Linked DNA regions of Homo sapiens: region 1 is linked to region 2. Evidence: promoter capture Hi-C in 16 types of primary human blood cells and fetal thymus (Javierre and others, 2016). All regions are on one chromosome and are shown on one strand. Each heading gives the region's core, a stretch centred on a gene start or on the middle of the fragment in contact. The rest is flanking DNA. Distances are from core to core; before and after follow the strand shown.

Region 1 (5,340 bases), core at 2,506-5,005, 210 kb after region 2:
CTGTTTCTGCTGTGACAGATGTCAGATGGGCCAACTTTTGGTAGTAGCAGCAGCCATAGGTTACAGGTGAGTCAAGTTCTGATTCAGAAATAACAGGTGTGACACACCAGCACCTGACTAGTTCTGCAGCACAGCTTTGGAGTTTGTCCCTGGGAGTGTCATCAGGCGTGGTTCTACAGCCCTCCCAAGAATGCTAATATCTATTCAATATCCCTTTAAACATCACAGTTAATGTGCGATTACCAGTCAGCTGGCAACTAAGAATTTAGAGTTTCAAACAAAAAGGGTTTTAACTATTTTCTAATGGACTTTTGTGTATTTTAGGAATTCGGAGTCGTTTTACAACACTATTAAAAGGTTTTATGCCTTACTATACTTCTGGTAGCAATAATGCCTCCCCCCCAGATGCCCGCATCTTAATCCCAAAAGCTGCGAATATGTTTCCTTAAATGGTAAAAGTAACTTTCCAATGTTATTAAATTAAGGCTTTTGAGATTGGATGATTCTGGATTACCTGAGTGGTGCCATTGTAATCACAAGGATCCTTATAAGTAGAAGCGAGGAGAGTCAGAGTCAGAGAAGTGATAAGGGTAATGGAGTGTGATGCCTTTTGTAAACAGAGGAAGGGGCCACACTAGTTGCCCTTTGTTTCCTGAAACACATAAAGCTTTTCTCACCTTGAGATTTTCCACTTGCATGTCCTCTGGCCCAGAACATCCTTGGCGTGGCTCCCAATCTATGTGTGACTTCACACAAGAGCAGTGATATTTAAGCCAGTCATTTTGGCTACAATTCACTGTTTAAACACTATGTCATACTTTACAGGGCCATAGAAAATTATGGCAATTGCTGGAATGTTGTTTGACAGAATAGAGTGGAGAAACCCTGAAAGGTAAAAAGCTTGGCTTTGACAGAAAAAATAAATAACAATGAGAAAATGTGTATCCTAGAAAGGGTTTTTAAATTCTAGATTGACTCTTGCATTAAAATCTATTTTTAAAAAGTTTTGTTGTGTTCTGCTTCATGTGTTTGTTGTTGTTAAACAATGATTATTGTGTCGTTTCATTTACCCCTATGAAAGTGAAATAATACAAATCAAACATACACCATTGTAAGTTAAAAACTCATAGATTGAGAAAGTAAATATTTAATTCTGTGGAATTAAGTATATAAAGTTTTTCTTATATAAGAGTCTGTAGATCCTGTGTGGTTTACAGAAAAATTTAACTTTGACACCGTCTCTACAAGCTGTTTCCAGTGGCAAGGCAAAGGATTGGCCAAAAAAAAAAAAAAAAAAAAAACATATAATAGAAACACAGAACTGTTCACGACGTTTATTTTATGAAACATGGAAGTGGTGTCATTTCCTCATAAAGTGTCTTCCAGTAGGACCTCTAGACTTATTTCCACTTTCTCCTCCAAGCCCTGGGCTTTGGGAGACTAACTGTATGGTTCTGACCAATATGCTACCCAGACCTCCACCTTCTGGAAGGATTCAGCCAGTGGAAACCCCATGCAGGAGACTGGAGGAAAGGAGGAAAATGAGATGGGGTATTTATTCCCCAGTTTCCCTTTCATTGGCTGTTAGCAGCATCTCTCCAGACCAGGGATCCCTCTCTCTGCAGCTATAGCAATTGCTTCCCATGCCCCTTCAGGGTTATAAGTGATCCTTACTAGACCTGGATGGAGGCACTACTTTTTTAGTTTTCTGTATCCTGCCCTTAATTTGCAAATAATTTCTTTAAGAAACCCTCCTCCAATTATCCCATGTGAGTAAGCTACTTGTTTCCTGTCTTGACCTTAGCAGAACCCAATATTTTCACTACACAGCACAAAGTTTATGGCCATAATATCCAAAAGAATTGATGTAACTTAAATGCAAGTTTCTCCATGTCACACCTCATTAACATGCTTCCAACAGCATAAGGTTAATTCTCAGTTTCTCAATTTGCAAGAGGAGGCCCTCCTCAATCAGGCAACTGCCAGGCATGCATCTTTGGTCATATATGTATTCCCAGTCTCCATGGCATCAAACTACTTATTGCCCCTTGTGTCTTCACACTAGTGGAGACCTACCCTCTCCCAACAGTACCTGAACTGCCCTGTTCCCATGTCCCTCCCCTCTGGCTAACAGCTGATCATGATGAGTGAGAGCAAGAGGAATAAATGTGCCTGCATATGACAAGTGTCATGCGGCTCAGTGTCCTGCTACTTGCATCCTCTCTCTGCAGACAGGTCTTTTACACTTACCTGTTCAGAGACCTCTCCCGTGATGGCACCAGAGTTTGTAACAGTTTATTATGTTAATTTTTCCCAAATTTTTATTATAAAAATATTCAGAATAAAACATAACAAAAGATGGGTTTATCAGTCATCCACTACCTACATTCAATAGAGTGGATTTTACCACCATCCGAAAGTAAATGACAGACTCATGAGAATTTACACCTACACACTTCAGCATCTAACCCCTAACAATAAGGGAAATTCCATGTAATCTCAATATATCAAACCTTTCTTTAAAAACTTACTAAAATGACCTGTTATCCAGTTCACGTTCAAGTTTCCTTGATTATCTCCAAAATGCCCTTTAAAACTTTAGAGACAGAATGCAATTAATACATTTAGTTGCTATGTTACTTTAATCTCCTTCAAACTTAAAGTCCTCCAGTTTTTCTCGGTGGCTTTTTGAACAAAGCAATTGTCCCAAATGTTCCACATTCTGGAAGGTTTTTTCCCCCTCTTGAGATGTTTAATTGGCTCTTTGACCCCTGTACTTTCATAAACAGTAAATTGAGACACGAATTATTGCAGTTACACCTTATCAAGGTGTTTCTATATTTACGATGGATCACAAGCAAAGGCACGAAACAGGTAAACTTCTTTTAGTGCTGCTAAATTAGATCATTGAACTAGCAAGGGGGCCAGTCCCTCCACTGCAGACACATTTGTCAGAACGGCACCTGGCAAGTTTGTGCTAATTATTGTGTATTCTCTGGTTATTGAAATTGCTTATTAAGCAGAATATAAAAGTCGGGTTATCTTGGCACTAAAACTACAATTTTAATTACGGAGGGTAATCCTAACAGTAAGGAGAAAAACACACTACCATAACCACATTTTGAGAGCTTTTAAGTGACAATGTAGCCGTTGATGTCCTCAGCCAGCCCACCAGATTTCTAATCTCTGAACACACGATTAACTTACCACCTGTATTCCATGTTGTATGTCAGCCTTGGCGTAAATTTATACTTTACAGCATTATACACCTAACAGCTTTTGGGCACCTACAGCAATAAAACACACAATATTGCTGAGTGCGTTAGTTAAGTTTCCACAATGTCAAACGTGAGCCCTTCGGAAGAAAACGTACGCGGCCCTGAAAAGGGCCATTAACGATATTGCAAGGAAAGGCCTGGCCTCACTTAACCGCCAAAGCCTTACAGGGTTCTTCCCTGGCGTTTGAGCACGTAGACCACGGCCATGGCGGTGACCGTCTTGCGCTTGGCGTGCTCCGTGTTGGTCACGGCGTACCAGATCACATTTTCCAGGAACACCTTGAACACCCGGCGGGTCTCCTCATAAATGAGGCCCAAGATGCGCTTGACACCGCCATGCCGGGCCAAGCGCCGGATAGTGCACTTGGTAATGCCCTGAATATTATCGCTCAGTACCTTGCGATGGCACTTGGCACCGCCTTTCCCAAGGCCTTTTCCGGCCTTGCCCCGAACAGACATGATAAACAAGTCAGAACTATCTCTAAACAAAACGATTACTCGCTTTCCGCAGCCTTTTATATAACGGTAGAGTAGACCTTTTTGAAAACTGAAAGACCAGGAAAGGCGGGAAAACGTATTCAGTCCCCGCTCATCTACTTCTAGTAATAACAAGACATAAGAAATTCTCTTGTAGTAGGGAGATTTGCTGGCATTTAGAGAATAAGGATCTCTAAACGAAAGTGTCAAACATGTACCTAGAGGAAAGTATCTCGATTTTTGATGTCTGTATGTGTTTAAAGATTTACTCCTGGCCGGGCGCGGTGGCTCACGCCTGTAATCCCAGCACTTTTGGAGGCCGAGGCGGGCGGATCACGAGCTCAGGAGATCGAGACCATCCTGGCTAACACGGTGAAACCCTGTCTCTAATAAAAATACAAAAAATTAGCAGGGCGAGGTGGCGGGCGCCTGTAGTCCCAGCTATGCAGGAGGCTGAGGCAGAAGAATGGCATGAACCCCGTGGGGTGGAGCCTGCAGTGAGCCGAGATCACGTCACTGCACTCTAGCCTGGGCAAGGGCGAAGCCCGTCTCAAAAAAGAAAAAAAAAAGATTTACTCCTTCCCTGTATATTAGAGCATTTACCATGCTGAAGTTGAAACAAGCCCAAATTCCAAGACATAAAAGAATTCCTAATCATATTGCCAAGCCGCCCAGCTAAAGAGAAGTAGCCTGGTTTTTGGTTTCGAATCTGTGAGTGACTGCTCTCTCACCGATATTAGACATGTTAATCTGAGTTTCAATGGCCCTATCTGTAAAAAGGGTAAATACTTGTTAATAATTGAGTTACTTTAAGCAAAACACTGGCATATAGTTAGTAAATGATTTTTTTTTAAAATACGGAGTTTCGCTCTTGTTGCCCAGGCTGGAGTGCAATGGCGCAATCTCTGCCCACTGCAACCTCCACCTTCTGGGTTCAAGCTATTCTCCTACCTCGGCCTCCCAAGTAGCTGGAATTACAGGTATGTGCCACCACTCCCGGCTCATTTTTGTATTTTAGTAGAGACCAGATTTCACGTTGGCCAGGCTGGTCTCCAACTCCTGCCCTCAGGTGATCCGCCCGCCTTGGCCTCCCAAAGTGCTGGGATTACAGGCGTGAGCCACCTCACCGGCCAGTTGGTAAACGAATTCTTATTGCCACAGCCTTTTTTTACAGACAAAATAATAATGCAGAGGTAAAGCACACCGAAGGATTTTAAAACATTGCCTTTGCAACACCAATACATTCAGTGTGCTTTCACTTATATTAAGCACTATACAATTAAGCAATGAAGAATTGCCCAGAAAAAAGATAATGTAAATTGCCAGAGGCTCCATGCCCTGTTCTCATGTGGAGGACAGAAGGTACAGGGGGTGACTGTCTTCTGGGGTTGATACAACAGGAAACTCAGGGAAAGCTGTCATAAATGTTAATAGGAGAAAAGGGGAATTTGCTCACAAGCCAAAATAAAGACATAAGCACCACTAAATTTTTACATTACAAAATACTTGCTGAGCTAGTTAAACGAGAGCATTTAAGTGGAAATAAATGATGTCTCTAAAATAGAATGTTCAAAATAACAATGGA
Region 2 (5,621 bases), core at 1,656-4,155:
GCTCAGAGGCCTGACAAACTGAACAACTGGGAACAAACAACATTTAATGCACACAATCTCTATCTTGTAGGGAGGCAAAATTTTACCTCTACTCTGTTAGGGTCTCCAGCTGGACCTGATAATTCATTTGCCATAAAACAGATTAGCAGAATGAAAGCATACAAATGTATTTAATGTAAATTTTATGGGACAGGAGAACCCTCATAAAAAAGTGAAGCCCCAAAGAAATGGCAAAAGCTAAATGCTTTCACATTAAGTTAAAGAGAGGCAATTGTGGGAAAGTAAACCATATGAGGAGATTAAAGGAATATATGATTATTTTAACAAGGTTTGTTTGTGTATAGAAGTCTCTCGGCTATGACTCCCTGCTGTGTTTGTGCAGAATTATCTCATCTATGCCTCTGGGCTGAAGAATATGTCTTTTCACCTGGTACAAGCAGAGCATTTTTCACATTGGAACTTTTATCTCCTGTTTTCAGAAAGAAAAGTTTAGAAGAATTCCCTTCTTGAATGCTGTTTTTGAAGTGCCTTTAGCTCAAAAGAATCCTGATCCCACAGTGGTCTATTTTTGGATGGTATATTCTGCAAACAACACCCCCTTTTTGTCTCCAATCTCTCCTTAATTACTCCTCTAATACAAAACAATAGATTCTTAATATAATATTAAAATGTTTGCACTACTCACAAATACAAAATGCTCAATAAATTTTCTTTCACAAATGAGAATTTCATCCATTCGTTAATTTTTAAATATCAACTGTCAATGAAGAGTTACAGCAGAATCCTTGTTCTGTTGAGGAGGGGGCAAAGAATGTAAGTGAGGGAGTGGAAAATAGCTGGACTGAGCTACCACCCCCTGTCCATCTGATCCTCAGACAGTAATGTAACTTTATTCTTTTATGCTATTCGTCAGACCCAGTACCTCCAACACATTTGTTTCCTACAGATAAAGAAAATATAAAAAGTCAAGCGCTATACATCAGATCCAGCACATCTATAACTGGAAAAAAAATACTTGACCTTCAGCTGGGCCCAGAGCTTGTGAGTAGTCACCTTGGCATAGACCAAGTCCATTGGCATCTCTAACATATCTATACTGTCTGTGGATAACAAATGTCTATGCCAGTTAGAGTCGCTTGTATAAGAGTCAAGAAAAACGAATCATAAAACAAACTGACATATTCATTTTCATAATTTTTAAAATGCAAATATTACTTTATAAACCAAAAACTGCCTTATTAAAAGCTGGAACACAAATGAATTTAAGTAAACGATGCAATTCAAATTTAATCTTTTGTGTGTGTGATTTGTTGTTGTTGACAGTTGGTCAGGCGATTTTAGTATGGTACATCAGTTTACATTCTAGATGTAGGCCAAGAAAGAATGTTAGGTGTAAAAAATATTTATTGTAAAAAAGAATGTGAGGCAAGGTCTTTGGAATTAGTAGTTTTAATGTTGGACATTCTGTGGTTGTTCTAAAGTTAGTCTGTAAAATGTGATGTAAAAGCTATATGATAAAAAAATACAAAATATAAAAATTTTAAAGTAAATATTACTTTTGTTTGCGTACAGTATTCCCATCCCTCTAAATTTTCTTCCAGTACTCAATCCCCAACCTCCAAAACCGAAAAGCAAGATCAACAGAAAGAAAATGGTTAAAACTTGTAAATTCTAGATTTTAATAACTACAGGCAAGAAGTACTGAAAAAAAGAATGTGGCATGTCATGGTGCATAGTCCTAGAGGAGACAAAGCAATGCAACCAGATAGACTATTTACAAGCAAAGCCACACATATAAAAATTCATATATAAGGGATTAAATTATGCTTGGTCGACAGACTGACAGATTTAAAGTGGGTAGCTAGCTATGGATAAAATGAGAGCCAGTTAGATCCCTGCCTCACATTTTGCACCAGAATAAATTTCAGGTTAATGTTAACAGCCAAATGAATTTAACAGTATATATATATATATATATATATATAATATATGAGAAAACCTAGGGGACTATGTATTGAGCTGAGAAAATCTTCCTAAGCATTTTGAGGAAGACACTGGAACTCGCAAGACACAATTTTCTAATCTTTTCAAAGCTTTGCAAAAATGCCTAGTAAGCGCCAGTTAACTACTTACCAGATTTTTCCCTTACTCTTACAAAGTTGTTTAAACAAATGCTAATCATAGCAAGCTAGAGGCCTGAATGATAGTGGACTTACACAGCTTCTCTCCAAATAGCACCTTAATAAGGTCAGAAATAACCTACACTGCAAGACTGACCAAACCGTTATTTCTGTTAATCAACTTTAAGACCATAGTCTAATGCTTTCCGGGGGGGTCCTTAGAAATTTGTTCTGTTAAGACAACAAAAAATTATCACAGCTACTTTCGTTGGAATAAGTGGGTGGCTCTGAAAAGAGCCTTTGGGTTTTAAGACTGATGAAAAAGTGACTTTACATTTACGCTCTTTCTCCGCGAATGCGGCGAGCGAGCTGGATGTCTTTGGGCATAATAGTCACTCGCTTAGCATGGATGGCGCAAAGGTTTGTGTCCTCAAAGAGCCCTACCAAGTAGGCCTCACAAGCCTCCTGCAGCGCCATCACCGCAGAGCTCTGGAAGCGAAGATCGGTCTTGAAGTCTTGGGCGATTTCTCGCACCAGGCGCTGGAACGGCAGCTTCCGAATCAGCAACTCGGTCGACTTTTGGTAGCGGCGGATCTCGCGCAGAGCCACAGTGCCCGGGCGGTAACGGTGAGGCTTTTTCACGCCGCCGGTAGCCGGCGCGCTCTTGCGAGCAGCCTTGGTAGCCAGCTGCTTGCGTGGCGCTTTACCGCCGGTGGATTTCCGAGCTGTCTGTTTAGTACGAGCCATGGCAAAACCACAGAAAAGCTTGCCTGCAGAGACGTCTGTGGAGGAAAGGAAAGAGCTACTCTTCTTTTATAGAGTCAGACCACCAACTATTGGACCCAAGAAAATTCAAAAATCCCCGCGCCCTTCTTGGATTGGTCCATCTCTGTGCCTGGTTGCAGATTAAGAGAGGCTCCTGCCCATTACCGTAGCTACTCTGACGTCATTTTGTTAACCCCTTAGCTGCTATATCCACTGTGGACAAGTCTTGTACTGGAAAAGTTTCCTGAAGTCTTAAAATTTACAACCACACAAAGCAACGCGGAAACCTCCAATTGTTTCTAGTTAAAATATAAAAAAGAAATCAGAGAATATTGGAGACGATTAGGGAAATTTGCATATGCGCTTTATTTAAAATTGTATTTTTCTGGGTGTCGCATAAGAAGTGTGGGCAATTAGAAAAATGCTCTTAGCCGGGCGTGGCGGCTCTCGCCTGTAATCCCAGCTACTCAGAAGGCTGTCAAGAGGATCGCTTGAGCCCGAGTTCGAGGTTACAGTGAGCTGTTATCACGCCGCTGCACTGCAGCTTGGGCGAGAGGGAGACTCCACCCCAAAACAAAGCAAAACATCCCCAAACTGGAAAAAAGCTCATTTTGGGAAATACATACTCAAATGTTCAGTGGTAATGTGTGTGCTCTCAATTGTGTATGCCATTAATTGCTACAGCAAATGGTATGACATATTCAAACTTGTGTGGGGCATGCGGGTTTTAACACTTCCATTCAAGATAGTTAGGAATGCACTCATGGGTATAATTTCCTTCCTCTAAAATGTAGTAACTGCTGTGTGTGAAACTTAACGCGAATCACCCCTGTAAACATGTTTTGTGCTGCATGGCACTTCTCCCACATACCTAGAATTCCTGAGGTTTCTATGGATCTAATTTCTGCAGGACAAATTACTAAAAGTGCCACACTCAAAGCCATTAAAAACACCTCAAAAACATCTTTATGGGCGGCATAATCCAAAGCACAACAGCTCATTTAATGGAAGTCGTAGGTGGCTCTGAAAAGAGCCTTTGCTGTTAGGCTGATTTTGTCTGCTGACAGAAAAACAGCAGTGCATGAAGCGTTAACTCTTCACTTTCCCTTGGCCTTATGATGGCTCTCAGTTTTCTTAGGCAGCAGCACCGCCTGAATATTAGGCAAAACGCCACCCTGCGCGATGGTCACACGCCCCAAGAGTTTATTAAGCTCCTCGTCATTGCGGATGGCCAATTGCAGGTGGCGCGGGATGATGCGGGTCTTCTTGTTGTCGCGGGCCGCATTGCCCGCCAGCTCCAGGATCTCGGCGGTCAGGTACTCAAGCACCGCCGCGAGATACACCGGCGCGCCAGCCCCGACGCGCTCGGAGTAGTTGCCTTTGCGGAGCAGGCGGTGCACTCGGCCCACAGGAAACTGCAAACCTGCACGAGAAGACCGAGTCTTAGCCTTGGCGCGAGCTTTACCGCCTTGTTTGCCGCGACCAGACATAACTACTTCTGATAAGGGAAAATCGCCACAAGAAAATGTAATGAAACTACATTAGAACGCAAGGCAGAGAAGTATTTATACTGACTGGAGGTAGGCTGTGAGGAATTCTCCCATTGGCTAATGTCAAATACCCAATGGGAAATCAGAATCTGCATCCTTCATTTGCATGTAATCCTTCCGTCTGGTGTAAGGTTTATGTTTGACCCAATCCCCAGTCTGGCTTGACGAGCCTTCGACTTGAATACTAATAATAATTGGCCGAATTAGGATTTTGTCAAAATACCTTTTTTAAGCATGAGTGGAGGTTTTGTTCTGGTTATTTTGACTTTCAGCCGCTCGTGCTTTTCCCGGATTGTGACTCATGTTTTTGGAAAGGAGTGGACTCCGACCAATTTCTAAATAGATATTTAAGAGGTCCTTCAAATCGGGCGCAGTGGCTCATGCCCGTAATACCAGCACTTTGGGAGGCCGAGGACGGCGGGTCAGGCGTTCGAGACCAGCGTGGACAACATGGAGAAACCCTGTCTCCAGTAAAATAACCAAAAAAGAAACGGGGGAGAAAAAGAAAAAAAAAAGCCGGGCTTGGTAGTGCACGCCTGTAGTTCCAGTTACTCGAGAAGCTGAGGTGGGAGGATCGCTTGAACCCGAGAGGAGGAGGTTGCAGTGAGTTCACATAGAGCCACCACACTCCAGCGTGGGCGACAGAGCCAGAAGACTGTGTCTCAAAGACAAAAAAAGGGGAGGGGGAGTGGGAGGGAAGAAAAGCGAATACCCCAAATCCCAGTGAACTGTAGAAGCTTATAAGCTCTCTTGATTCATAAGGGAGAAAGAAGGGGGATGTAGGCAACTTAGGGGAGAGTATATGATTTTGGAGAAAAATAAATGGGTGTTTCAAAGAATAGGTGACAGCTGTGACAAAGTCTGTTTAGATGGTGTTAACCACCAGTCTCCTCTCCTGTGATACAGTTAATCTTCTCTGGTTGATGAGATTCCCCAGGGAAGTGAATCTTAACAACTAAATTCCTTTTTGAATTTTTTTTTAATTTTCAAATTTTTGATTAGAGTTCAGCGAAAGCCCTTCCTTGAATTTACTGTTTCCTAGGTGCCCTCAGTTCAAAGAAATCAGCGTAACAAAGTGGCACATTTTTGAGTTGCATTTCCTGAACTTTTTCACAACACTGAATGAGGAGTCTCTGGAATCTTTCAGGAAATGAGAGAACAAACATTCCATAACACAGAAATACTC

What was found. The method cuts DNA at HindIII sites, captures the fragments that hold promoters and counts their contacts. A CHiCAGO score of 5 or more calls a contact.
Region 1: the fragment with the promoter of H4C7 here is called in contact with the fragment with the promoter of H3C2 in region 2 in 6 of 17 cell types (erythroblasts, fetal thymus, neutrophils and 3 more); the score reaches 14.3 in erythroblasts.

The regions. Positions count from the first base shown.
Region 1 is chr6:26,243,241-26,248,580 of GRCh38, forward strand. H4C7 (H4 clustered histone 7) reads right to left here and starts at 3,756. Exons shown (of 1, transcript NM_003547.3): 1 at 3,371-3,756. The coding sequence starts at 3,737. The coding sequence ends at 3,441. The HindIII fragment of the contact is 5,476 bases long and covers 899-5,340 here.
Region 2 is chr6:26,029,194-26,034,814 of GRCh38, forward strand. It overlaps H3C2 (H3 clustered histone 2), which reads right to left and starts at 2,906. Exons shown (of 1, transcript NM_003537.4): 1 at 2,396-2,906. The coding sequence starts at 2,867. The coding sequence ends at 2,457. It overlaps H2AC4 (H2A clustered histone 4), which reads right to left and starts at 4,425. Exons shown (of 1, transcript NM_003513.3): 1 at 3,899-4,425. The coding sequence starts at 4,375. The coding sequence ends at 3,983. RefSeq lists enhancers at 2,543-2,772, 2,813-2,932, 3,870-4,499, 4,803-4,862, 4,903-4,952 and 1 more and a silencer at 4,283-4,382. The HindIII fragment of the contact is 2,287 bases long and covers 2,884-5,170 here.